Linked DNA regions of Homo sapiens: regions 2, 3 and 4 are each linked to region 1. Evidence: promoter capture Hi-C in 16 types of primary human blood cells and fetal thymus (Javierre and others, 2016). All regions are on one chromosome and are shown on one strand. Each heading gives the region's core, a stretch centred on a gene start or on the middle of the fragment in contact. The rest is flanking DNA. Distances are from core to core; before and after follow the strand shown. Region 1 holds the start of SH2D1B (SH2 domain containing 1B). Region 2 overlaps NOS1AP (nitric oxide synthase 1 adaptor protein). Region 3 overlaps NOS1AP (nitric oxide synthase 1 adaptor protein). Region 4 overlaps NOS1AP (nitric oxide synthase 1 adaptor protein).

What was found. Contacts are between HindIII fragments. The CHiCAGO score rates a contact against its expected background, and 5 or more counts as called.
Region 2: a fragment that was not itself captured here is called in contact with the fragment with the promoter of SH2D1B in region 1 in 1 of 17 cell types (M1 macrophages); the score reaches 5.7 in M1 macrophages.
Region 3: a contact is called between a fragment that was not itself captured here and the fragment with the promoter of SH2D1B in region 1, in 1 of 17 cell types (M1 macrophages). The highest score is 5.7, in M1 macrophages.
Region 4: a fragment that was not itself captured here is called in contact with the fragment with the promoter of SH2D1B in region 1 in 1 of 17 cell types (M1 macrophages); the score reaches 6.0 in M1 macrophages.

Annotation. Positions count from the first base shown.
Region 1 is chr1:162,409,271-162,416,062 of GRCh38, forward strand. SH2D1B (SH2 domain containing 1B) reads right to left here and starts at 2,866. Exons shown (of 4, transcript NM_053282.5): 1 at 2,613-2,866. The coding sequence starts at 2,746. The HindIII fragment of the contact is 13,514 bases long and covers 1-3,049 here.
Region 2 is chr1:162,236,086-162,242,969 of GRCh38, forward strand. All of the region lies in intron 2 of NOS1AP (nitric oxide synthase 1 adaptor protein), which reads left to right. Among named protein-coding and RNA genes, the nearest start is that of MIR4654, 82 kb to the left of the region's middle. The HindIII fragment of the contact is 847 bases long and covers 5,061-5,907 here.
Region 3 is chr1:162,205,580-162,212,550 of GRCh38, forward strand. All of the region lies in intron 2 of NOS1AP (nitric oxide synthase 1 adaptor protein), which reads left to right. Among named protein-coding and RNA genes, the nearest start is that of MIR4654, 52 kb to the left of the region's middle. The HindIII fragment of the contact is 3,804 bases long and covers 1-3,513 here.
Region 4 is chr1:162,178,888-162,185,649 of GRCh38, forward strand. All of the region lies in intron 2 of NOS1AP (nitric oxide synthase 1 adaptor protein), which reads left to right. Among named protein-coding and RNA genes, the nearest start is that of MIR4654, 25 kb to the left of the region's middle. RefSeq lists an enhancer at 1,557-2,087. The HindIII fragment of the contact is 1,686 bases long and covers 920-2,605 here.

The sequences.
Region 1 (6,792 bases), core at 1,616-4,115:
TTTCTGTTGCCATCATTTCCCAGCTTCATTGTGTTCTCCACGTCAAATTGAAGTTCCTAAATTCACCAGTCTTTTCACTTCCCTGCTCAGAAACCATCCATGTTTCCCTGTTATCTATAGAACCATTCTTTTAAAACTCCATGATCTTATCCCACCCTCCTTTTCCAAAAGCTGGTTTCCAAACTACATTTTAGGAACCTTGTATGTAAATCCTTTAAAATATCCCACTTCTAGACTCCTGTTCCTACCTCCTCCCCTTCCTAAAATGCCCTCCATCCCATTTACATGTAAGCAGATCTTTTCCACTCTTTGTTTATTTTATTTGAGATGGAGAGTCTTTCTCTGTCTCTCAGGCTGGAGTATAATGGCGCGATCTCGGCTCACTGCAACCTCTGCCTCCTGGGTTCAAGCGATTCTCATGCCTCAGCCTCCCAAGTAGCTGGGATACAACTGCACCCACCATGCCTGGCTAATTTTTGTATTTTTAGTAGATGGGGGTTTCATTATGTTGGCCAGGCTGGTCTTGAACTCCTGACCTCAGTGATCAGCCCACCTCAGCCTCCCAAATTGCTAGGATTACAGGCATGAGCCACCGCGCCTGGCCAATATATATTTTTCTTTAAATGGTACTGTTGGATGTAGATATGAGAGAAATAGCCTGTATCTCCAGTACCATTTAAAGAAAGAAATATGTCCCTGTGTATTCTATTAGTAATGACAATCACTTTTGTCTATAATCAGACTTCTGAGCCTATTCCAAGGCCCATTTGTGTACTTCCTTGTAAAATCCAGTTTTAGCAAAGAACCCTACTAAGTCAGTTTGGCAAGGACCCCTCACCCTAGCTATCTGATCACTGTTGGATTCTGATCAGATTCCTCATCCTCCACCATCCCCCAGGCAACATCTGATCACCCGGGCCTGTCTTCAGCTACAATTCTGTTAGGCTGGTTTAGCCAGAATCCACTTTACCCCTGATGTTTCCTCCGAGTAATTTTCTGTCTACCGACAGCCACACTGCTCCTTGGCCATAAATTCCCACTTGTCCATGCTGGATTCAGAGTTGAGTCCAGTCTCTTTTCTGTGCCGCAAGAGCTCATTGCAGTGGTCCCTGTACCTTTGTGATGATCCTGAATAAAGTCTTCCCAACCATAATTTAACAAGTGACATTGAGTAATTTTTTTCTTTAACAAGAGACATTTGGATTTTAATTTCTGTTACAGGTATAATAAAAGGTTCAGTGGTCCCTACTTTACAAAGAGGAACATACATAAAGATAGGAGGTTTCTAGTGATTTCTGTTCAGGATTGCTTTCTAAACTGGGCATAAACAAGTTCCTTCAGCTAGGTCTCTTTGATACTGTGGCCTGGAATTTGTTTTTCTTTTTCTTTTTTTTTTTTTTTTTGAGATGGAGTTTTGCTCTTGTTGCCCAGGCTGGAGTGCAATGGCACAATCTCAGCTCACTGCAACCTCCACCACCCGGGTTCAAGTGATTCTCCTGCCTCAGCCTCCCAAATAGCTGGGATTACAAGCATACGCCACCACACCTGGCTAATTTTGTATTTTTAGTAGAGACGGGGTTTCTTCGTGTTGGTCAGGCTGGTCTCGAACTCCCGACCTCAGGTGATTCACCTGCCTCCGCTTCCCAAAGTGCTGGGATTACAGGAGTGAGCCACTGTGCCCAGCCACTCTTTTTTCTTTTTTTTGGACAGAGTCTCACTCTATTGCCCAGGCTGGAGTGCAGTGGTGCAATCTCAGCTCACTGCAGCCTCTGCCTCCTGGGTTCAAGTGATTCTCCTGTCTCAGCCTCTCAAGTAGCCAGTATTACAGGCACACGCCACCACACCAGGTTAATTTTTGTATTTTTGGTAGAGATGGGGTTTTGCCGTGTTGGCCAGGCTGGTCTCAAACTCCTGACCTCAAGTGATTCACCTGCCTCAGCCTCCCAAAGTGTTGGGATTACAGGCATGAGCCACCATGCCCAGCCTGGAATTTCATGTTTAACTTAGACTCTGGAAATTCCAAATGAGTTTTAACACAAACAAATTATTTGAGAAATTCAGGTCTCTGTTTCTTTACCTATGAAATGGTGACTGCTTATGCTTGCCTTGATAGACTACTAGGATGAAAGGAAATGACGAATATTGAAGTCCTTCACAAATCTAACAAAATGTGAAATATGATTGTATTTATAGTTTACGTATTGCAAGCAGATGCTGCAGAATAAGTGTTTCAGATTGAAATTTCTTGAAGAACCCCTAGCCTTTTCCATACCAAATAAACAGATCTCTGGAGGACAGGACCTCTGACATTTGTACCTTCTTTCCATCCCTCTGTACCCCTGTACTTCCTGCAGCCCTTCCCTTCACCACCACCATGTCCCTCCTGCTGCTGCAGAGTCTGCTTGCAGGGCCTTTACACCAGGGAGAGCAGGCAGATGGAGGAGCATGGACAGATACATTCCTCTCCTGGCAGTGTCCATTACTTCTCATTCTACTCATTGAGACTCCAAAGTCAGAGTGAAATACTGAGGGATATGAATTCCTGTACTGTGTGGCAGCCATTGCCACATTCAACATACGATGTCAGATGTGTGCAAGATGAGGCTACTCACGAGACACAGAGGCACAGGACTCCTGGTATCGACTCGCTGTCTCTTAAAAGAAAGTTGCCATCCACCCCTTCCTTGAGCAGCAAGGTCTCACAGTCTTGCTTGGTCAGACGTCCATGGTAGTAAGGCAGATCCATGGAGAACGCTCTTGTATCCCAGGAAGCCCTGTTGGCCTGAAATTCACCCCCAAGTCAAGGGACAGCTCTGAGGAGAGATGTGTAAGCAGCTGTACCTCCTGTGGAGCTACCTCTTCCTCTAGCGGTCTGTGGGACTCAGCCAGCTTCACAAGATTCAGGAAATGAGGAGGGCGGGGTGATAAAATGACCAACACTTTTCACCCTCTAAATGGCCCACATGTGACTCACAGAAGTAGGTAAAGCACATTTAAACACACAATGGAATCAGTGATGCTCATGGCTAGGGAGGCAATGCTGAAGTCAAGCTTCCTGGAACTGTGTTGCAGCCTTGTATATTACCATGGACTATCATCAACTTCTTTGGCTACTGGTATCCTTTCCAGGAAGCACACCGCTGCTTTTGCTGTAATGGTACCCATTTTCTGCTGAAGTTGCCTAGGATTGGGCTATGCTTAGCTTAGACTGGGTGCTCAAAAACCATTTGGATGCTGAGAGAATTGATATGCTCAGATACAATGGGAAAATTGAAAGGGTGGGATTTCCGTGGATCAAATGACACTAAAAATGGAAGACATTAATGGCAATAAAAAACAGTGGGACACTGTGGATGAGGACAGCCCATTCCATGGCTAAGGCTCCCAGCCACTGGTGAAAAAAGGCCATTTGAACACCCTCAAGCATTGTTCCTTTTGGAGAAAGGGCTGGTGTAGGTGGGAGGGATATCTGGGTATACTCATATATCTACAGAAAATCACTATATATATCTCAAAAATGTTATCTATGAAAATAGAACTATGTGCTAACGATTCATCTTTACTTCTCTTAACTTCTTCTTTTTTTTGTTTTCTTCATCTCCGTAGTACCTGGAGATCTTAACTTCTTCTTAACCTAGATGTTTATTTCACCTTGCTACTTTGCTTACCAGCTGTTTACTCACAGTTGGGTGTATCTTCTATGGAACTTCCTTGTAACAGATCTTTGTTCTTCCTTGGAATTCCCACTCTGCATTTGGCATAGTGCAGTTTCACTGATCAGGGAACTCGTTATCAGACAGATATGCTCTCAAATAGCAACTTTTCTTCTGTGGTTTTGGACAATTCATTATTCAATTCTCTGGAAACTATGGCAGTTGAAGACAGAGTTGTTAATAATGAAAGAAGAAATTTGGTATTTCTTGTGAATAAATTCACAATCGTGGTGTAAAGATGCTTTTTGACATAAGAGAGGAAATAACTGAAAGCATGCTCAGGCTCTTGGTCATCACAGGGGCTTCCTTGCCCTTTTTGCTGTTTCAAAATCCAACCCTCACAATAAAAGAAATGCAAATTACCTGCATGCTGAGATAACAACTCTCACCTATCATATGGGTGAAAATCAAAAGTTTGAAAGCTTATTGGGTTGGTCATGGTGAAAGAAAATAGAATATCTTGTATATCATTAGTTGGAATAAAAAATAGTTACAACTATAGTAAAAGATGGTTTGGCAATATCTTGCAAATTTATGTATGCCTTCACCATCTGATAGAACAATCTCAGTTCTAGAAATCTGTCACAAAACTACACAGGCAGAATTAGAAAATGACTTGTGAATAAGGTAGTATTTTTTAATAGAAAAAGATTACAAACAACTCAAAGACTTGTGAATAGAGGGACAGGTGAATAAACTGTGATTCATGTATACAATGGAATATTACTATAGAATAATAAAATGGGATTGAGGAAGATCTCTATATGCTGATATGCAATAATCTTCAGGATGTATTTTTAGGTGAAAGCAGCAAGATGCACAATAGTATATAGAGTATGGGGGATATAAATAAATATATACATTTATAATATTTGCTCATATTTAAAAAACAAACGAAACACCCACTGGAAGAACAAAACTAAAACTAATTAAAACTAAAAACTTCTGCCTCTAAGAGGAGAGCGGAAACATGCATAGAGGTGAGACTTCTCTCAGTAAAACTTGCTGTAGAGTTGTTGGTTTTTTGTTTTGTTTTGTTTTGAGACAGAATCTCACTCTGTTACCCAGTCTGGAGTGCAGTGGTGTGATCTCGGCTTACTGCAACCTCTGCCTCCCTGGTTCAAGCAATTCTCCCACATCAGCCTCCCAAGTAGCTGGGACTACAGGCACGTGCCACCATGACTAGCTAATTTTTGTATTTTTAGTAGAGACAGGGTTTCACCATGTGGCCCAGGCTGGTCTCAAACTCCTCACTTCAAGTGATCTGCCTGCCTCGGCCTCCCAAAGTGCTGGGATTACAGATGTGACCCACTGCGCCCAGCCTGCTGTGGAGTTTTGAATGTAGAATCATGTAATTGTTTTTTTGTTTTGTTTTGTTTTGTTTTGAGACAGAGTCTCACTCTGTCGCTCAGGCTGGAGTGCAGTGGTGCGATCTCGGCTCACTGCAAGCTCTGCCTCCTGGGTTCATGCCATTCTCTTGCCTCAGCCTCCCGAATAGCTGGGACTACAGGCCCCTGCCACCACGCCCAGCTAATTTTTTGTATTTTTAGTAGAGACGGGGTTTCACCATGTTAGTCAGGATGGTCCCAATCTCCTGACCTCGTGATCCACCCACCTCGGCCTCCCAAAGTGCTGGGATTACAGGCGTGAGCCACAGCGCCCGGCCATAATTGTTTTACACATTGAAAATAAACAAGTAAAAGGGTATTCCTAAAAGGAGGAATAAAAACTAAAATAATGTATCTAACTGAACATTACTTTGGTAATATAATCATAAAGAAAATTATTTCAACTGACTTTAGAATGTAGAATTTGAGTGAACAGTTTTAATTAAATATCTTGTACATTAAATAAACTAGCAAATAAATTTAGTGATAATTTGGTGTAATTTAAATATATTTAACTCATATTATAAGATAAACAAAAATCATACTGATATTAACATTTTAAGAACTAAGTAAGGTAAACAACTGTACCAGTTTGCTTATGTCTGAGGGGTTTCCCAGTATCTACGACTTTCAGTGTTAAAGACAGATGAGTCCTGGGAAAATTCTAGAATCAAGATTTTTTTTCAGTATAAGAAAAGAGATACACATATAAAAGCAAAGAAGTTAAATAAAATTTTTGATGCTAAATTTGAATTGGAAATATCAGCATGGATTTACAACTTGCTTTTCAACAAAAGGCCTAAAACAGGGGCCAGCAAACTTTTTCTTAGGCATTGCAGGCAATAGTCTCTGTTGCAACCATTCATCTCTGCCATTGTAGTGTAAAAGCAGCACTATGGGCTGTAGTTTGCCAATCCCTAGCTAAAACAATGAAAACTTGGTAGCAATGAGCACACCTAGGGATAAGGCTATGGTCTCTAAATACCACTTCTCCTATAAAAGAAGCAAGAACTTTTTAGAGAAATGGCTGAATTCATGCCAGGGACATATAAGTGTGTCAGTGAAGACTGAGTCATGTCAAAGGACATAAGACCCAATATGGAAAAATTTAAGTATCAAAGGAATAATGATTGTGGTTGATCAAAATACGTTGAATTTATATTATCCAGTAAAAGATCAACCTTGCCCAAATATAGATGTAGCCCTTTGTCCTAGCTCCTTGGAGAAAAGCTTTAAGCTCTTGGAATCCAGTGTATGGGACATTCAGTAGAACAAATAATGTGGTGTCTTCATAGGTTGTAAAAACTGAGTCAGATAGTTGGGTGAGAACTGCTCTAGGTTAAAAAGATGGTTATGCAGCATGAAACCAATGCTAGATGACATCTTGTTTGGATCTTGGCTTGAAAAAACCAAATACCAAAAATTTAGTGCTGGGGGAAATTTAAGTATTGATTTGATATTAGATAGTGCGTGTAGCAATGGCATTATGCTTTTGTGAATATAACTTTTAGAGATACGTATTGAAGTGTTATGTCTGATACTGGGTGATTGTGTGTGTGGTTCATTATATTAATGTCTCTTTTTGCATGTGTTGTAAAGTTTTAATAGTAAAAATATCTTTCCATTCCCATATTATTCTGATCCCATGTCACCTTTAAGAATAGCTCCACAGTACACAGGAATATCTTCAA
Region 2 (6,884 bases), core at 4,234-6,733, 170 kb before region 1:
TTCTCATTCATTCGTTCCACAGATGTTAACTGATCACCAGATTCTGTGTATCAGGGTCTTTGATTTCATTACTGATTTCCCATTCCTCTGGCTTCTTTCCACCTCAACTCCATAGTACAGTTCAGCTTTCCATTCCTATGCTAGTAGCTGTCCAACTTTCTAATACCAATCAGCAATTTTGAATATGTACAACTGTGCTACCATTTTCCTTGGTCACTAATAACAAAAACTACCATTATATTGAGCCCCTATGAACCTGTTAGATGCTTTACAGATACGATCTCACTTAATCCCCAGGAAAATATTTTTAGCTGACTTGCCCTTCACAACATACCATTCATATTTTCACAGCTGAAGGGCTGCAAGCTTGAGCAGTGTGTCCAGGGATACCCAGAGAGTAACTAGCGGACATGTCTTTCTACTCCCGTCCATCAGTCTGCCATTAAAGCACACCCTTTGCCCATATGTTACTTCTGTTAAGCCATGAGGAAGCAGGGCAAGTCATCCCTCTAGTCCCCTCTCTCCTCTTTCCATTTTTTGCTTTCTTGAACACTCCAGCCCCCCTTTCCCTCTTTTTCTTTGGTGGGGGATGGGGGGGCAGGTGTATTCCTGCATTCCTCAATTTGCCTTCCTTTCTGTTTCCCTTGGTTAGAAATGTTGTCTCTATAAATCGAAACCCATAGTTCACAGGCCAGTCCATGTATTGCAGAAGAGTCTGGCTGGTTTCAGGCTTCCTGGTCTGCATGCAGGCTGTACTTCCTCACTGACCTGTCTTCACCCTCCTTCTTAGGCATCAGAGGAGCCTCTCCTAGCTAAATTGCTAGTTACTTGAGAAGGAAAATGTTTCATCTTGATGGTAGCATATTATTCAGAGCCCTGGATAACCCCCAGCTCTCCTGGAAACACAATACGTGTATGTTTGATGGAATTTATCTTGATGATTGGTGAGAGGGTGGTGATTTAAACCAGCTCGTTTCCCGTTTACCACTGAGGCCAGCTCACCTTTGCTGGAGAGGGTTCTTGACTCTTTCTTTGTAGCAGGAACTCCCAAGTTAATCAAGTCTTTTCAAGAGCTTCAGGCTGAAAGTCAAGATCCCTCAGGTTAGACCCAATGTTGAAATTTTAACTGGGCAAATTCTCATTAGAGACAAAGGGCCAAAGACTGTGCTGGTGGAATCTAATGTCTTTTAATGTTGACTTCAATCCAGTAAAGCCCTTGTTAAGCCATTTAACTGTAAAATTGGGCCTTGGGAAGGCAGGACACCCTCTGAAATTAGAGGTCAGGAGATTTGAATTTGATTTCCAGCCCTCTGCCAGTCAGTCAGCCACTCACTCTCAAGCCTTAGGCTAGTCACTTTCTGTCTGTTTCTCAATTTTCCACAGGGATTTTTGTGGGCATTAAGGCCCACTGGGAAATGATCCCCTTTTCAGCTCAGTGCCTGGTTTGTTAAGGATACTGGTCAATCTGGACTTTAACACACCTATGATTTTGGATTAACTCTATTACCTCTGCCAGAAATTAACACAGAAAATTGACAGTTGATTGACAAGAAGGAGAATCAGTTTTAAAGAATTAAAATATAACTGAGTCCTTTATTACTTAAAGAATATTCAACTCAAGTGGACACAGATCACCCATTCTAACTTCATCAGCTATAGCACTTAAAGGAGGCAGGCTTTGCGGGGACAGTGTTAGCTATGTACTTTGAAAAAGTCGTGTGCTCTACAAATAAAAAGCTACTTTTGTTGTTACTTTTGGTCCCCAGTAGAAATGGAAGTCATTTTCAGAGAGCATGGGAGACACATGAGTCCTTTGCTGTCCTCTTGTCTGCCTCTGAGGGTGAAATGAGAGGAGTGTGAAGCACTTTGGGGTGTGGCCAGGCACACAGCTAGGCTCGATGCAGAGCTGCTGTCGTGGTGGTGTGGCCCCAGTCATCATGAGCCACATCTGACAGGATTAATCACATTTCATATGCAAGCATGCTCTCTGCTTGACCGTGCTGTTGTTTTTAATGAGAGCATCATTTACAGTATGGTGCAGTGCTTTAACCTGATAGCCCTGCCTAATTTTGTTCTGTGTAACAATGTGTGGACTTGAATAGGAGGCAGGGTTGGGGGAGAAGGAGGGAGAATGGACGTATGAATAAGAGAAAGGTGTCTCTTCCTTTGGAGCATGGATGGGTTCCAGTCCCCACTAACCCCCTCAGCTGGGTATTTTTGTGCGGGTCACAGCCTGTGCTACATTAAGCATCAGCCCTGGTTGGGGATAGAGTCTACAGGGGAAGGGTTAGGGCTTCATCAAAGAAGCAGCTCTCTTAAGTGACCTCCACTTAACTTACCTGCTAGTCTCCATTCCTTCTGTAAAACATACTACCGGCAACTGCTGCTACGTGTTTTTGTTATTGTTGTCTTATGTGCCACCATAATTTTTTTCCCTCCATTAGGGCTGAATGCATACCAAGAGCCAATTGTGTGAATTCCTAAACTTGTTTGCACCAGTTATATTTGTTGTTGTAATTGAATAATTTAATTATTACATAAATGAAATATGAGTGAGAAAAAATAGATGGCTAACATTCACTGAGTACTTACTGTGTGTTAGGTACTCTTCTAAGTATCTGACATCTCATCTCTTATAGTTGCTGCGTATATAAAAGTAGAATGTTTTGAAAAAAATGATAACAGTGAATTGTTACAGAAGTCACCAATGGATTAGTTATGAAGAAGACAGCATAAAAAAGTTGGAGGGAAAGTAAAAATCTTAGAAGGATCCTGCACCCATGTTACTCAGCAAATGTCTCTAAGTTCTTAATCCACTTGGAAGAAAGCAAAATTAGAAATCAGAGTCAATATATTGTGTTATTTATGTAAGGAAGAGTTTGGTAAGTTAATCTGTAGACCTATTCCTAGAGGAAAGACCTCCAATCTACATTACAATATTAGTGAATAAACATACATTTATATATCTTATATTAAAATAAAATGTTTAAGGTATGCACATACTGTTTTCTATGGTTCTTTGCCTTAACATCTGTTTTGAGTAATAGACCAACTTTTACTGGTTATGATTGTGTTTATAAGAAGTCTTTTACTGTAAGAAGATTAGTGAAGACAAATCAGATATGGGCTCCACATGGCCCCAGCTGATGTGGGCAGGTGCCTCTAGGAGAGCCGAGGAAGCTCATCTAAGGAACGTGTCTAGGAAGTAGCCATTGTGATCTACAGATCATATTCTCTTATTGCAAGTTCCTATTTTACCAGTTATTGGGTGAATTCCTAAAATTCAGTGGACTGCATCAACCAAGGTTTTGGAGCCCTATTTTGAGTATAATGCAATTTGACATATTATAATGACACTGCCCTTTGGTGCCTGTCACCAAAAGGATTCCTTTGTTGTTCCAATGGTCAGATCCTGTGAAGACTGAGAGTGAATATGTATTTGCACACATACTCACACAGATCAACACACGTGCTTATATTCAGTTAAGCAAATATTCAGCAAGCCTGCTGTATGCCAAGTGCTGGGCTGTGAGTCATAAGCCCCCAAGAGATTGCCTGATATGATTATTGCCCCTAAGTAACCTGGGGATGTACCTGGAGGAGTCACATATCACCAGCTAAGACAGATGGGCTAACAGAGGCCACTGTGAAGGACAAGAGGAGTGGGAGAGAACCCCAGTAGGAAAAGCAGCATAAACAAGTAGGGTGATGTTGCAAAGGGATTGTACAACTCAATGAGTATAATGACTTCGAGAATAATTTACTTTCAGATTACTTTTACTTAGGTTTGTCTGATTTTATGCTCAAAATAATTCCAGGAAGTAAAAAGGCCTGTATATTGCCAACTAATACTTGGGGACACAGATGTAGAGGGAAGGTGACTTGCTTCAGTAATGTGGCATCAGAGCTCCCTCCAGGCTTCCCAGTGCCTGGATTGGTGCTCCTGCCACCAGATGGCAGCTTCCTGGCACATTTACCCACCTGCCACGCTAGAGACACTCATTGAAACCCATTCCTTAACTGCTCAGATGAGATTACCTTATTGCCTTATGGTCTGTCCTTCTCAATAAGCCACAACAACTGCCAGCTGACTGAACAGAGGGGCCTCACTGACTTCCATGATTGGCTCAAGTCCCATTCCTGCTGCACTGTGTGGCCAGTGTGTGTGTGTGTGTGTGTGTGTGTGTGTGTGTGTGTGTTGAGGCATGCCTGCTCACCTGGCACGTGGATTGGGATTCCTGCCTTCTGGCCCTATGGGCAGTACCTCAGAACAGCCTCTTCATTCAGTGCCTTCTGAACGGTTCAGGGAAATATTTTTGGCTTATACATTCTGCCCAAGCCCAGGCAAGCTCAGCAGGGCCCCAGAATAGCACTTTGCCTTTTACTAGAGAAGGTTGCATTTGCAGAGGTACCATTAACCACCTGGATAAGGGCTCTTACAGCACAGCATGCTTTCTAGCGGGAGCCTGAATCACACTGTCTATATGAATTGAAGTCTCACTCACTGTTCTCCCAACTCAAAACAAAAACTACAAACGTGGAGTAAAGATAAAACATCAGCGTGTTATTTGGCAGCTTTTTGTTTGCACAGGTACACTGTGGAATGTATAAACAACCCCAAGGGAAAGATACAAGGCACATGGTCATTTCTTCATGGTCCATTCATGTATTCAACAAATATTTACTGAGCACCTATTTGGTGCTGGGTGATATACTAAGTATTGGGGATTTCACCTGGAGCAATTATGGCCCTGCCCTTGCAGAGTTCACAGTCTGATGGCGGGATACAGACGTGTCAAGGGATGGTCACAGTGGAGTAGGATAAATGCCATGAGTGCACACTGGAAGCAGGGCAGTGTGCAGTTATGTGGGGTGTGGCTGTTCAAGGGCTGTTGGCTGAAAGGATGAGTAGAGGCTGAAATCCAGCCTATCCTCTACTTCTCAAGACATGTACTGGCTAGAGGCAGGGGAGCCTTTTTGTAACTCACAGAAAGGCTCACAGGGACCAGCAGTGACCCTGATTGGAAAGGCACCTACTCTGGATTTAGCATGGAAGGGAAAGCTTCTTGGAAGGAAACATTTCAATTGAGACTTGAAAGATGACCAAGAATTAGCCAGACAAGGGAAGCAGAGGAGAGGTGGGAAAGAGCATTCTAGGTAGAACCATAATCACCAACACTGAAGATAATGCTTAGCATGTGCCAGGCGCAGAGCTGAGTGCTTTAAAAGATTAATACTTTTAAGAGGAAGTTGCATACGGAACAGCATGGAAGGGCAAGAAAACCTGGCACTTTTGGGAAACTGAAGTGAGTTCATTTTGGGAAGAGCATGGAGTTCAGAGGAGAGAGAGATCGTGAAGACTGGAGTGATGATAATAGCTAGTTAAAATTACTTCACACTTGCTCTATGCTGGGCAACCTTCTGAGTGCTCAGTACATATTGACCCATTTAATCCCCATGACTGTATGAGGTAGATACTATTATTATCCTCATTTTACAGATGAAAATGAGGCTGGGAAGGATTAAGTAACTTGACCTGGGCTACACTGCACAATGTGGGAGAGAGAATCTGCACTCCCCCTGACTGCAGAGTCCAGGCTCTTAATTCCCACACTGCCTCTACGGGAAGAACTCAAGATGAAAATAGGTCTCCAAGGATTGACTCAGCAGAGGAGAAAAGGGAAGGCATTCCAGATGAGGTGACAGATGTCAACATCAACAAAGCAGATTCACACTGAAACTCTGTGAACAAGGAGAGGCTGGCTGCATGGTGCCATCTCTAGTCTTACTTTTTCAGCAACCCTGGGAAAATGAAAATCCTTCCTCCTAAATCATCTCATTCATCTCTAACCACAATCCCATGAAAGTTGAATGTCATATCTCCACTGTAACAATGAAAGAAAACAAAGCTTGGGGACAGTAAATGACTTTTCTCTCAAAAAATAGATCTAGAAGTTTCCTTATTCAGGAAGTTCATTTGTTCTTTTTACCTTCCTTCCTTCATTCATCATCTATTTATTGAACATCTACAATGTGTCAGACACTCAACTAGGCTTGAGAGAGTAAGGAACAGAGTATATTCCCTGACCTCAAGTGAATAGGGTTTTAAGTGATGACAGGTCAGTGTGGGTTTTTAAAACATGTCTGCAAATTCTTTGAGACTCATCTCATTGAAAGATGGAGTTTGTGACTACTCTTGAATCTTGGTTTACCTTCATGATTTGCATGCAGCCAACAGAATGCAGTGGAAGTATGCAGCTTCTGAGGCTAGGTCCAAAAAAATGGCCAGTCAACTATTCCTCACTATGAGGAACACTAGCTGCCAAGAAAGAAGTCCAACTAGCCTGACATAGCCATGCTGGAGAGGCCACGTGTAGGCACTCTGGTGACAGCTCCAGCTGAGCTCCCAGTTGATGGCCAGCATCATCTGTCAGCTGTGGATTGAGCCATCTTGGACGTCCAGACCCATCAAAATTTCAGATGCAGCCCTAGCCAACATCTTACTGTAACTGCACGCAAAACCCCAAGCAAGAACTGCCCAGCCAAGTCTCTTCCACATTCCTGACCCACAAGAGTCTGAGTAAAAAACAATGGTGGTTGTATTACAGATGTAATTTGTTATATAGAAATGATAGCTCTAATCATCAGCCTCCAAGAATTGAAGAAAGCAGCAACTCAGGGGATCCACTAGAGATAGGGCTCAAATCACTAGAGAAGAAATTGCTAGTCTTCAGCAGTGAGCATAAAACCTTCAGCTATCTCCTAGATTTTATTGCAAATTGGTCTTCGGGAAGGAGGGGCGCGGGCAAAAGTAGAGGAGAAAAAGTGAAAATGAGCATTATTTAATAGAGGAGTTTATTTTGCATGTTGCTTTCGGTTTGAGC
Region 3 (6,971 bases), core at 362-2,861, 200 kb before region 1:
TGCCTTTCCATCTTTCATCCAGAATAATGTAATGGTTTTTCCGGGGAGTATTCCGGTGTCATCACTATTGGATCTTTTTACTAAGGAAGTCTTTGGAGGTATGTTAAAAGGGTGATTCTCAGTTTGGGAATTGTAGCTGTCTTGCTGTAGATCAGGCCTGTTATAATTCCCAGCTTGGTGTGTGAGCCATCAAGCAAAATTCTGAACCCTGTAGACCTTGTTCCATGAGTAGGATGGGGCTTTTGGGGTTTTTAGTGGCTCTTCGATAGCCTAAACATTTGCTATCTGGCCTTACACAGAAAAAGTTTGGCAGCCTCTGAAGTTGGCTGAGCCTTGTTATACTGCTACTCTTTGATGGTGTAAGGAGTCACAGAGGTCTATGTCTGTTTGACCCACCTCTCAGCAAAGCAGTCATTTATACTGTTCAAATGAAGACCATTTTGTGAGGGACCTGGGCATCATCTTTTCACATTTGGAAAGGCAAAACAGTAGCATAAAACCTTTTAGAGAATGTTATCCGGTAACTGGAAAACTCAAAAGAACAGGGAAAAGAGGAAAATGTGTGTGGAGCAGGGAGTAATGTTCAGCAAGTGGCTGAAATAGCATAAAGGGATTTTTACTCCAGGGAGCTCTGGAAAGGAAAATGGACTGGGGCATTTCAAATCTATTTCTCTCTTAAAAAAAAAAAAGTAGCAAAGTTTTTTATTCTCTTGTTTCTGAGTTTGTAGATTTGACTCTATGGGTTAGTCGGATCTGTGAGAGGATGGGAAGACCCTATAATCTAGTTCAGGAGTTGGCAAGCTACATCTGCAAGTCAAATCTGTGTCTTCCCTTCCTGTGTTTATAAATAAAGTTTTATTTGACACACAGCCACACACATTTGTCTCTGGCTGCCTTGGCAGAGTTGAGTAGCTGTGATAGAGACAGTCTGTCCTGAAAAGCCTAAATATTTGCTATCCAGCCTTGTGCTGAAATAGTTTGTCAACCTCTGAAGTTAGGTAAGCCTTGTTATCATAAGATAAGGGGATTGTGAGTTTTTGTATCACAGGAATTTTTTTGTTAATATACAAGTAGGCATTCTTGATGATCATTTGCAAATTAAGTAGGAAAGGAGAGTGAAAATCACCTATTGCAAAGGGGCCATGCAGTGTGGCTGGCACATGATATTGTTACCAGACAAGCCAGAAGACCTTGTAGTGTGACCATGGGCAATTCATTTTACCTCATTGAGCCTCGATCTCTTTGAGTGTAAAATGGAGATAAGGTGACTTGTTTCTCAAAACGTGGTTGCTTGGATCCAATGAAATAAAGCCACGAGGGCATCCTATAAATGGTAAGAGGGCTGTATAAATAGAAGGAATTAACCAGCACCCATTTGTGCTGTTGCAGCTGCTGCAGATACGTGCCTTGTAAAATTACCCTATTATTTAGAGACCGAGAAATATTTGGATAGTGGTAATGTGCTGCTCTGAGAAAAGCAGTCGCCAGTGGGATTTTTATCACATAATTAGAGGGTTTGTTAAATGTGCTAGTGAAAAGAAGCTGTTTGCTGCTGCCTTGTTTTAACATGGACCAGGGATCCTGAGCCTTCTCCCTGAGGAGATTCTATACCAGCATCCTTGCTCCAGTCTCTTTTGTGGTGCTGGCTTCTGGCCAGCAGAAATTCTGGGAAGTTCTAGACGTAGTGCCAGAGGCACAGTGGCCTTAGAAACCCTTGTAAAATCACCGTCTACCCACGCGACACCTCCGCTTTAGACAGCTAGGTGCTGATAGCCACTGTGTGTGTAAGAGCCCTGAGGGGTGGGGCAAGCTGGAACCCAAGGAACAGCAGGCATCAGAAAGAGCCCAGGTTAGTGTGGGAACAGCAGAGCTGTTCGAGCTGGTTCTTTGCTGACTTATTGGTTTATTTATTCATTCAGCCAGTCAGTTTCCTCATTTTAGAAGTGGTAATACCAGGTACTTTACAGGGTTGTGGTCAAGGATTGAATGAGATAATGCAAGTAAAGTTGTTAAGCAAACAATCTGGCAGGGAGCAAATGTTCATTAAATAGTAGTTCCTGGTTGGTGTAGTGTATTCTTGGTTATCATATAGCTTTGGGATTTTGAATTGGTAAATATTCATGATGTGTGAAAAATCATGATACATACTGTACGGTCTCAGTCCCATAAAATTGGATGTTGTGCCTATACACACACAGGATCTAGAAGAACATGTCAAACTATAAACTGCTTGTGATTGTGAATGACTGTGTTCTTTGCTTCTTGTGTTTCTCAGTTTCTTATAATGCACATATTAACTTTTTTAAAAATAAAGTTTATTTTAAAAGCCTGAAAAAAATAGTAATTCCTGATTTAATTTTATTGTCTTTTTCTAATTATTTCATATTCATGAAATACATACCCTGCGCTAGGCACTGGGGAGTATCTGTAGATGGGAGATGAAGGTATGTAGACTGTGGTCAGGCTTGGCTTCTGCCAGCTGGCTATGATGCGGGAGGACCAGCAGTGAGCATGCTTCTTGGGTTTCTCACGGTGAGTCTGGGGATGCTATTGGAGCCCCTCAGCTCAGCCCTTTCACCTGGCAGGGGCCTCCCAGCCTGCCTATTCCAATCTTACCTGCCCTCCAAGACCAAGCTCAGGACCCATCTGTTTTCTAATTAATGCTGGCCTACAGTTGCCACACTTTTCTCAGAATCTTGAAGCACTTACACACCCAATTTAACTCTGGATCACATCCCACCTTGTCTTTTTATAATTGTTTCATGTAGCCTTGAGAGAAGAGACATGTCTTATTCATCTTTAATTCTTAAGTGCCTACAAAGTTCCTGACACATACATATCCTCAATAAATATTGAATTGGATGAATTCTAGTTCATTTTAGCCACCATGTATCTACTAGTGGATCACCTACTTTAGGGTTTCTTAACTTTATTACCACCACCATTTTGGACCAGATAATTGTTTGTTGTAAGGGGCTGTCCTGTGTACTGTGGGATGTTTAGCAGTGTCCCTGGCCTCTATCCATTATATGGATATATGAAATGCCAGTTGTGACATTCAGAAATGACCCCAGACATTGCCAAATGTTCCCTGAAAGGCAAGATCATCCCAGGCTGAGAACCATTGATTAATTGTGTTTTAGACACTGCCTGTACCCTGCCTTCTGAGTTAGGCTATAAATACTTTAGGGGAAATTTTGTTTTCTCAACAATGCCTTTATACCGACCGTAAAGTAGATGTCTAATAAATGTTTACTCCATCTGCTCAGCTCATTTTCCTGGTTGCACCACCTTCATGTGAGGCTGGGGAGAACAGAAAATTTGAGGCCATATTCATCATCTTCTATTAGCTCGTATTAAATAAATGCTTAGAATTTTCTAGTTTTCATTTTGCTTTCCTTGCTGACTCACAGGCCTGCAGTCCCTTACTTTCAGAATGCCAACACTGCAGGGGAATGAGCAAATTCTGCAACCCTTTTTCAGATTACTCTCAAACAATTGATTAAAAGAATAAGCTTATGGGTAAGATTTTTCCTCTTCTGGAATCCCATTTATGGCCTTTAAACCCCATGGGGCCTCTGTATTTGCAATTTTTGCACAAGATGTTTCCCAATTTGCTGGGGAATGACTTCCAGAAATATTTCTGGTGCCCCTTCAGGGATGGGCACCAGTGTAGGGCCCAAGTGTCTCAGGGACTGTCTCACATGTAAGGTTGTACCAGGCAACCAAAAGCCAAACGTCCAAGCCTTTAAGTTGGAAATAGTCTGGACTGAAGTGTGTGTATAAATGCATGTAGATAGAAGGGCGATAGGATAGCACAGTTCTGCTTGGGGAAAATTAGGAGAAGTGGTATTTTAGGAGAACCCAGTACAAACCTCTGGATGTGAGGAGAGCTCAAATATAACCTTGGGTGTTCTGCTAAGTGTCTATGAGGACTTGAACAAGTCAGTTTCCTCTCTTTGTGCCTGGGTTTCATCTGTGAAGGAAGAAGAATAAATGATCTTTATGATACCTTCTACCACTGAACATTCTGTGACTTGAAAACATTATTCTAAAGAACACTTTTTAAATACTCATGGAAGAGAAATTGATTAGAGAGTTGGGCCAGAGCCCTCCCAACACTTTGGGAAGATCCCTCTCTTGCTAGCCATCTTCAAGTTTTGGAAAGCTCTCATGAAGCTGAGAGCTGGGGGCGGGGGGCAAGGGCAGGGGGACTCTTCTGTACTCAAAGCAGAACCAGGCAATTGAAAAGTGGATTCTGGCTCAGTATAACAAGAATTTTCTGGTCATCAGTGTTGTTGGAAGATGAAGAAAGCTTAGGAGGGAAGGAATTCTTCATCACTGGGGCCATTTTAGCCAAGGCTGATGCAGAGTGGGCAGAGATAGAGATATCAGACGAGTGACCAGACTAGATGTCTCTAAGTTCTTTCCAACCTGGGAGTTTTAAAAATGTATATATTTTTGTTAATTTTTCCTTATTATTTTGATCCTTGTGAAAGGAGAAGGAAGAGAGATGGGCATACTGCTGTCTGAAAGACTGATTATATGGGAGGGATGGGTGGTAAGGCTCTGAGGGGGAGAGAGTATCACTTTAACTACATTTCTTCAGCAACAACTTTGCAGTGTGGAGTAGGCTGAGGTGCAAGGGCTTAGAGACGCATTGAGTGGGTTCCTTGGATCTCCTTGCTGTGGGGCCCAGCTCGACCTTCAAGAGCACGGTGACTTCTCCCATGCCCAGCCCACAGCTCTGCTTGCCTCTCTCACTGTGGGCCTCCCTGACTCACTCGACAGCAAGCAAAAGCCACACTGTTTTCCCTGCCACCTTCTGTCTATCTCCCCATGGCTCTGAATCAGCTGTCATGGGAGTTGGCTGTGACTGAGAACCAGAATTAATCCACTTTCTCTGGAAATTATTTCTCTCAGGCCCATGACTGTCATATCACCGAGCTCTCTGAGGCCAGCATCTTTCTGTGAAGTCCTTGCTTTCCATGACAGCATTTTATAGGCTCCGTGTGGAGTTGCTGTTCCACTCTGTAATTGACTGGGCATATTGGTGCCACTTGTAATTACCTCCAGATACTCGCCTGCTTCAAGGCCATGGTGGTGACTCCTCCTTCTCCTGGGCTGCCTTCATCACCAGGCTTCTTTGCCTGTGGAATGGGAGATCCATTTGCTCTGGTTGGCAGGGCATGAGTGACATGTTCAAATAGCTCCATGGCACTGGCCTTCCTCTATCCACTGACTGCCTTTATTTCTTCATCTCTGCTATTGCACACAACGAGTATGGCCCAGCGACTGAACTGGCTGTCACTGTCAGGCCCCTGAGCTCACGGAGTCCGCAGCTGCTGTGATGCTGGAGGGGCTGCAGTGCTGCCCACAAGCCTGGGGGCTCTGGAGTCCTACCATGTGAAGAAAGTTGGTCTCTTGCTACTCTGGTCTCACCCCACTTCCCACCATTGTGTTCTTGCTGTTTCTACCCAGGCAGATCTTCACATGGGGACAATGAATGTGAGACAGGCTCATCTTGGGAATGAGGGTGAATGGTACTTGAGACTGGAGAGAGCCAGCAGGCTTCTTGGGTCTCTTATTGTCTTAGCTCAGCTGCCATAACAAAATATCACAGGCTAGGTGGATTGAACAAGAGAAATTTATTTTTCACAGTTCTGGAGGCTGGAAAGTCCAAGACCAAGGTGCCAGCAGGTCCAGTGTCTGGTAAGGGCTGTCTCTTTGGGTTGCAGATGATTCTTGCTACGTCCTCACATAGCCATTCCTTAGTGCATGTATGAGAAGGACATCTCTCTCTCCCTCCCCTCCTCTTATTGGAAGGATGCCAATCCTATGGGATTAGGACTCTACCTTTGTAACCTCATTTAACTTTAATTACCTCCTAAAAGCCCCTTCTCCAAATGCAGTCACATTGGGGTTTAGGGCTTCAGTGCAGAATGTTGGTGGGGGAGGGACAATACAATCTATAGCACTTATTTATTGATGTTTCTTTTTTCAACTTCAGAAGCAATAACTCACCTCCTAGGGCATTAAAAACCCAGTGAGGCAGTGGGTTGTTTGGCTACCTTCCTGTCCGAACTCTTTCTTTCCTTGTTTCCCTGTGTTTTTTTCTTGACTGTTTGAGACCCTGGGGGAGCCACTTTCCTTCCTCTCTCTGCAGTCTGATTGTTTACACTTTGCTGACCGTATCCTGGTTAAGGAAACTGACAAGGGTCCAGGGTCTCTAGGTGTCCTGCCATCGGAGGGACTGGCTGAATTAGCAGCAGCTGGCCCTGAATCATCCTTGGGAGTGTTGTATATTTAAGTCCAGTACTTGTAGCTTCCCCCCACAAAAGAAGATCATTTTACAGAAAACAGAACCAAGACCCCAAAAGTTCAGATTGTTGGTATGAAGTCATAAGACTACTTAGTGACAGAATCAGGAGTGTAAACCTAGCTCATAATCTCTAGTCGATGCTATAGCTGGGGAAGGACCAGGCAGATTGCAGGAGGAGATGCCTTGCCTGTGTTGCTGAGTTTTCCTCCCTCGGGTTGCCCTCTTGGAGGCTCCTCTTGTTTTTATACTTGACAGGACAGGGACAGGAAAAAGGTGAGACAGCTCATCGTGTGGCCCCCTCTGCAAGGCTGGGAAGGTGTTGTTTGACATATAGAGAACCAGGGGCTGCATGATCAGTGGTCTGAGCAGTGGTCTGGTCTTCTGTAGTCCCACCTCATCTACTTAATGACCAGTTAACTCTTAATTCAGGTGACAGTAAACATTTAGCACCTGTGCTGGGTGCTGGGCTATAGTGGTGAGCAAAATGGGCTGGTCCTGCCCTCATGAAACACAGTCTAGGTTTTATGCACCAAACTATTTACTCTCCCCATCACAAATCCACATTGACACTCAAGGATGGGGAACCTCTAAGTGACTGGGGTTTGGGATGGGAAATATGTAAACTCTGCCCCCCGCCACCCCGCTGCCC
Region 4 (6,762 bases), core at 513-3,012, 230 kb before region 1:
AGTAAAAAGACTAGTTTAGTCCGTCTTATACCTATCACTCAGGTCCTGGAATTACCAGGATTTTATCATTCTTGCTTTATTTGTTTGTGGGGTTTTTTGGTGGGGGTTGAGGGGGGTGGTGCTGGTGGTTATGTATACTGTTTCTTTTTTGGCTGAAAAATTTTGATAACAGTTTTGTCATTAGCTCATCTCCTGGACCTGTGTGGCATCTCTCCTTTCTTTGCATGAATTTCCTACCATTGTGTATCTCGTAGTTACTGGGTATTTATTTTATGTAACAAATGTTTATATAGTCTTAATCATATGTTACACCCTTTTTTAGTTCCTTAACAAATATTAGCTTGTTTACACCTCATAAAAATCTTACGAAATAGATATGAAAACGATTCTTCTTTTAGAGGTGGTAAAACCAAGGCACAGGGAAGTTGAGTAACCTGCCCTGAGTTACACAGCTAGGAAGCCGGCTAGCTGGCTTTCAAATGCAGGCTGTGGGGTTTTATAATCTGTGTTCTTATTTGTCATGCTGTGCTAGATAAACAACAATTCTACAGCCATTGCCAGTCTGTTCTCTGGTACTGCTAAAGACAGAGGAAGGAAAAAGCTAGTTCTTGCCTGCAGATGCATCCAGTCTGTTGGGAAGACGGACCTGGAAACCAGCATTTGGGGTAAATGCTGCAGCGATTATGCAAAAACAATTCAGTGAGAATGTAAAGAAACATTATGTGAAGCTTCTTGAGAAAGTCCAAGCAGGCTTCACAGAGGCTGTGATCCTTGAACTCAGATCCAGAAGGGTGGATGAGTGGGGAGGGAAATCCTGGACCTAGAGGTGAGAGAGCACAGGGAGGGCTGGAGAGAGATGGACTTGACAGTGGATTTCTCAGGCAATAAGATCATGAAGGCGCTGACTTGCCTGCTAAAAAGCTTTGACCTCATCCTGCTGGTAGTAGTGACCTATTGGTAGATTTTTAGCAGAGAATAAATATGGTGAGGTTTGCAGATTACTAAGCTCTCTCTAGAGGTGATGCAGAGGATGGATTGGGAGGAGAAAAGGCCGGACACCATTTATTAGTGCTGGCTGCTGGCAAGAATGTAGGGGCCTAAACTGGAGCCATGACAGTGGGAATGGAGAGCCTGGATCTGAGAGGTGAGGACCAGCATTATGCAGGTGTTCATTATCTGGATTTCTGAATGATATGTTACCTAGGAAAGCAACAGTGATCATAACATCCAAATATTCACCAATGAAGCCATCACTTACAGAAACAATCCCTGTGGCAAATGCACCCGGTGACCTCCAATGTGCCAGGCCCTTGTGTAGCCTCCTCCATGATGTGTTATTTTATTTTTATTTATTTATTTTATTTATTTATTTTTTGAGACAGAGTGTCGCTCTGTCGCCCAGGCTGGAGTGCAGTGGCGCTATCTCTGCTGACTGCAAGCTCCGCCTCCCGGGTTCACGCCGTTCTTCTGCCTCAGCCTTCTGAGTAGCTGGGACCACAGGCGCCCGCCACCACGGCCAGCTAATTTTTTGTATTTTTAGTAGAGGCGCGCTTTCACCGTGTTAGCCAGGATGGTCTCGATCTCCTGACCTTGTGATCCGCCTGCCTCAGCCTCCCAAAGTGCTGGGATTATAGGCATGAGCCACCGCGCCCGGCCAATGTGTTACGTTATTTAAGACCCCATTTTAGCAGCCTGGAGCGGGACCTTCTGCATGTGAGAGGCACATGTGGAAAGGGACTACAGGAGCCTCTTGGAGCGGAGCATGGCCCTCAGCTGACAGCCAGCAAGAAAGTGGAGCCTCAGTCCTGTAGCTGCCGGGAACTCAGTTCTGCCAACGACAACGTGAGCTTGGGAGATGACCCATGAGCTTCAGAAAGGAACACAGCCTGGTTGACACCATGGTTGCAGCTTTGCAAGACTCTCAGCAGAGGACCCATGTAAGCTGTATTCAGACTCCTGACCCAGGGAAACTGGGAGATACTAAATGTGTGTTGCTTTAAGCCTTGAAGTTTGTGGCCATTATTATGCAGCAAGTAGAAAACTAAAACATTCCCTGTTCAGTCATCCTCCCCTTAACAGCAGCATCTATTCTCAGCTATCCTCAAGGTCTATCAGCCAGCATTCTGCTTTCAGATCTGGCAGTACAGTGCAATTTCCATGCAAATGTATTTCAAAGTGAAATTGCAAGTCTTGCAAAAGATGTAGGATTATAGGTAGTCAATAAAAGGATTGCTGGAGAACTGCTCAAACAACTTAACAGACAAAAGAGGACTGGGCAGGGTTAGACCCACTCATAATTGGTGAGAAAAACAATCAGTATGCTGACAAGAAACTGACTTCAAAGGAGAAGGATTTGAATATCTTTGAATATTAAGACACACCTTTGAGAAAATGAAAGCTCTTAAATAATTTCTGCAAAAATTATGCTCTGTATAGTAATGTCATGAAAGTCAGAGATGTAGTAAAGGATGTCATGTTATTATGTAGTGATGTTGGAAAAAAATTACAACAATAAATCAATAACTCAGTCTAGCCTAAGAATTAATGCAAAATTCAATATGATCTAAATATTTCACATTTTAAATAAGGTTTTACATTTTAGATAAGCTTATTTGCATAATTTTTACTTCATTTTGAAAGATTAATTCTGTCAGCTCTTATTTTTTCACTATTGTGAAGTTCTGGTTCTTATTTTTAAGGGCTTTTCTAGTACCAGCTGCCCCCTGGATAACAGTTATCAAGGGCCTTTTGAATTAGGGGGTGATGTTGACATGAACTGCTCACTGGAGTGGATGCTTCCTGATGGCCAGGAATGAGGGGATTGATTTGGGCACTTCCTTTGTAGGATGGAGCCCAAAATGCCCAATTTATTTCATTCATGGCTTCACAAGCCATCAGTATCTCAGATGCTCAAAGATTTTTGTTCAGTACTCTCCTTGTATCAGACAGGAAACATGGTAGACCACTGAGTATGGTCTGAGTTGATTTCAAGTGTATGCAACATCTTTTCTGGGGATGACCTAAGAAGGCCAGCTTTATGAAGGACTCTGGAGAATTCCTGGATAGAGTTGAAAAAAGTCCCACTTGACATTTGCATTGGGCTTGTATTTTTCACAGTGCTTCTATTTACATTGTTATTTTAATCCTCAGAGCTGTACAGTGAGATGGTCAGAGAGCCATCTTCCTTCTTCATGTACTAGAGGAGGAAGCCAGGGTCTGGAGAGATTTGAACACAAAGTCACATGGCTTTTTACTCAGAGGCCCAGAAAGAGGTAGATTATTACAATAATTGTTACGACAGTCATCATTTACAGTGTCTGCTTCCTGACAGTCACTGTGCAGGGTACTTTCATACATAATGTCATTGAACCTTATAATCGGTCACAATACTGTCAAGTTGGTACAGGCATACCTTGGAGATACTGCGGGTTTGGTTCCAGGCCACTGCAATAAAACGAGTATCTCAATAAAGTGAGTCACACAAATATTTTGGTTCCAAGTGCATATAAAAACAAGGTACACTTGATGTTGATGGCTACTGACTGACCAGGGTGCTGGATGCTGAAGGTAGAGGTGGCTGTGTCAATTTCTTAAAATAAAGCAACAATGAAATTTGCTGCAAGGATTGAGTCTTCCTTTTACCAAATATTTCTCTGTAGCGTGTGACACTATTTGATAGCATTACAGTAGAACTTCTTTCAAAATTAGGGTCAGTCCTCTCAAACTCTGCTGCACTGCTTTATCAACTAAGTTTATCTAAATCTTTGTTGCCATTTCAACAATGTTCATAGCGGGTCTACAGGGAGTATATTCCATCTCAAGAAACCAATTTATTTGCTCATCCCTAAGAAGCAACTCCTCATTCATTAAAATTTTATTATGAAATTGTAGCCATTCAGTCACATCTTCAGGCTCCACTTCTCATCGTAGTTCTCTTGCTATTTCTGTTACATGTGCAGTTACTTCCTCCACTGGAGTCTGAACCCCTCAAAGTCATCCTGGAGAACTGGAATTCACTTCTTCCAAGCTCCTGTTGATGTTGATGTTTTGACCTCCTTCCATGAATCATGAATGTTCTAATGGCATCCAGAATGATTAATCTTTTCCAGAAGGTTTTCAATTTGCTTTGTTTGGGTCCTTCAGAGGAGTCACTATCTATGGCAGCTGTAGCCTTACACAATATATTTCTTAAATAATAAGACTTGAAAGTTAAAATGACTGCTGATCCATGGGCAGCAGAATGGATGGTGTGTTAACAGGCATGAAAACAACATTCATCCCCTTGAACATCTCCATCAGAGATCTTGGGTAACCAGGTGCATTGTTAATGACAGTAATATTTTGAAAGAAATATATTTCTGAGCAGTAGGTTTCAACAGGGGGCTTAAAATATTCAGTAAACCATGCTGTAAAGAGATGGGCTGTCATGCCGTCTTTGTTGTTCCGTTTATAGAGAACATGCAGACTTGATTTACCACAATTCTTAAGGACCCCAGGACTTTCAAAATAGTAAATGAGCACTGGCTTTAACTTAAAGTCACCAGCTGTATCACTAGCTGTCCTTTGAAGCTTTGAAACCAGTTATTGATTTCTCTTCTCTAGCTATGAAAGTCCCAGATGGCCTCTTCTTCCAATAGATGGCTCTTCCATTCACATTGAAAATCTGTTGTTTAGTGTAGCCACCTTCATCAATGATCTTAACTAGATCTCCTGGATAACTTGCTGCAGCTTCTGAATCAGCACTTGCTACTTCACCTTCCATTTTTATGTTACAGAGACAGCTTCTTTCCTTTAACCTCATGAACCAACCTCTGCTAACTTCGAACTTTTCTTCTGCAGCTTCGTTCCCTCTCTCAGCCTTTATAGAATTGAAGAGTTAGAGCCTTGCTCTGGATTAGGCTTTGGCTTAGGAGAATGTTGTGGCTGGTTTGATTTGTCTATCTAGACTGTCCAAACTTTTTCCATATCAGCCATAAGGCTGCTTTGCTTTCTTATTATGCATGTGTTCACTGGAGTAGCACTTTTAATCTCCTTCAAGAACTTTTTCTTTGCATTCACATCTTGGCTAACTGTTTGGCACAGGAGGCCTAGCTTTCGGCCTATCTCAGCTTTGGACATTCCTTCCTTACCCGGCTTAATCATTTCTAGCTTTTGGTTTAAAGTGAGAGAGGTAAGACTCTCCCTTTCACTTGACCACTTTACTGATGGGCCATTGTAGGGTTATTAATTGGCCTAATTTCAATATTATTGTGTCTCAGGGAATACAGAGGCCTGAGGAGAGGGAGAGAGATGGGGGAATGGCTGGTTGGTGGAGCAGTCAGAACACATACACATTTATGGATTAAGTTTGCTGTCTCATATGGGCACAGTTTAAGGTGCCCTCCAAAAATTACAATAGTAACAATAACGATCACTAATCACAAATTATCATAACAGAGATGATTATTAAAAAGTATGAAATATTGTGTGAATTAACAAAATGTGACAGATATGAGGTGAGCACATGCTGTTAGAAGAATAGCACTAATAGACATGCTTGACACAGGGTTGCCGCAAACCTTTAATTTGTAAAACAAACAAACAAAAAAACCCCAATATCTGTAAAGCACAACAGAGTGAAATGCACTAAAACAACGTGTGCCTGGCCTGTATTTTTACATTGTTACTGCTGAGAAAACTGTGACTTGGGTGGATTATTGCATCTGGTATGTGGAAGAGCCTGACTCCAGCACTTTACTCTTTCCACCACATCGTGGGACGTTCTAACATCCTTTCTCCTCCACCAATACCATGTCCCACACAATGGGAAAGGTCTCCATAGGATGCCTGTAGAGAACCTGGCAGCCCTGTTTTCCAGTAGTTCCCCTGAGACTGACTGAAGTGAGAAAGTTAGATTAAATCCAAGCTGTAGTCCTCTTTATTGTGTTGCAGTGAGAACCGTGATTTCAGCTGTTGAATAATCAATATAGTCTGTTTATTATTTTCTATTGCTGCTGTAACAAATTACCACAAACTTAGTGACTTAAACAGCACATTTATCTTATAGTTGTGTACATCAGAAGTTCACTATGGGTCTCACTGGGCTAAAAATCAAGATGCTGGCACAGCTGTTTCTTTCTGGAGCTCCAAGAGGATAATCCTTTTCCTTGCCTTTTCTAGCTTAAAGAGGCTGCTGGTATTCCCCAGCTCGTGGCCCCATCCTGTATCTTCAAAGCCAGCATTATTGCATCTCTCTGACCATTCTTCCATAGATATATCTCTTCTATCTTCCTCTTCCACTTTTGAGGACTCTTGTGATTACATTGTACCAGTGGCTGATCCAGGATAATCTCTCCATCTGCAGGGCCTTAATTTAATCACACCTGCCAAGTACCTTTTGCCATGTAAAGTAACATGTTCACTGTTCTGGGGATTAGTGTGTAGACATCTTTGGGGAGGATGCAGCTTGTAATACTGACTGTCTGTATTTGGTGACATTAGTTGTGAGCTCATGTTTCATTCTGTGGTAACATAATTCCGCCCTACTTCCTAGAATCAGTGGCCATACAGATTACGTTTGCCTTTTGGTCAATAATCTGATGCCTTGAAGAACTCAAGTCTTGATGGGGGTTATCTGAACAGCCAGTTATGCAAAGGACTGGAATGTGAGGAGACTGCTGAGTCAGCAGCTGTGTCCTCAAAGCTGGGCTCTCCTATTAACTTGCCATGTGCATTAGGACAGATTGCATAGGCTTCTACCTCTGATATTCCGTAGGAATGAGC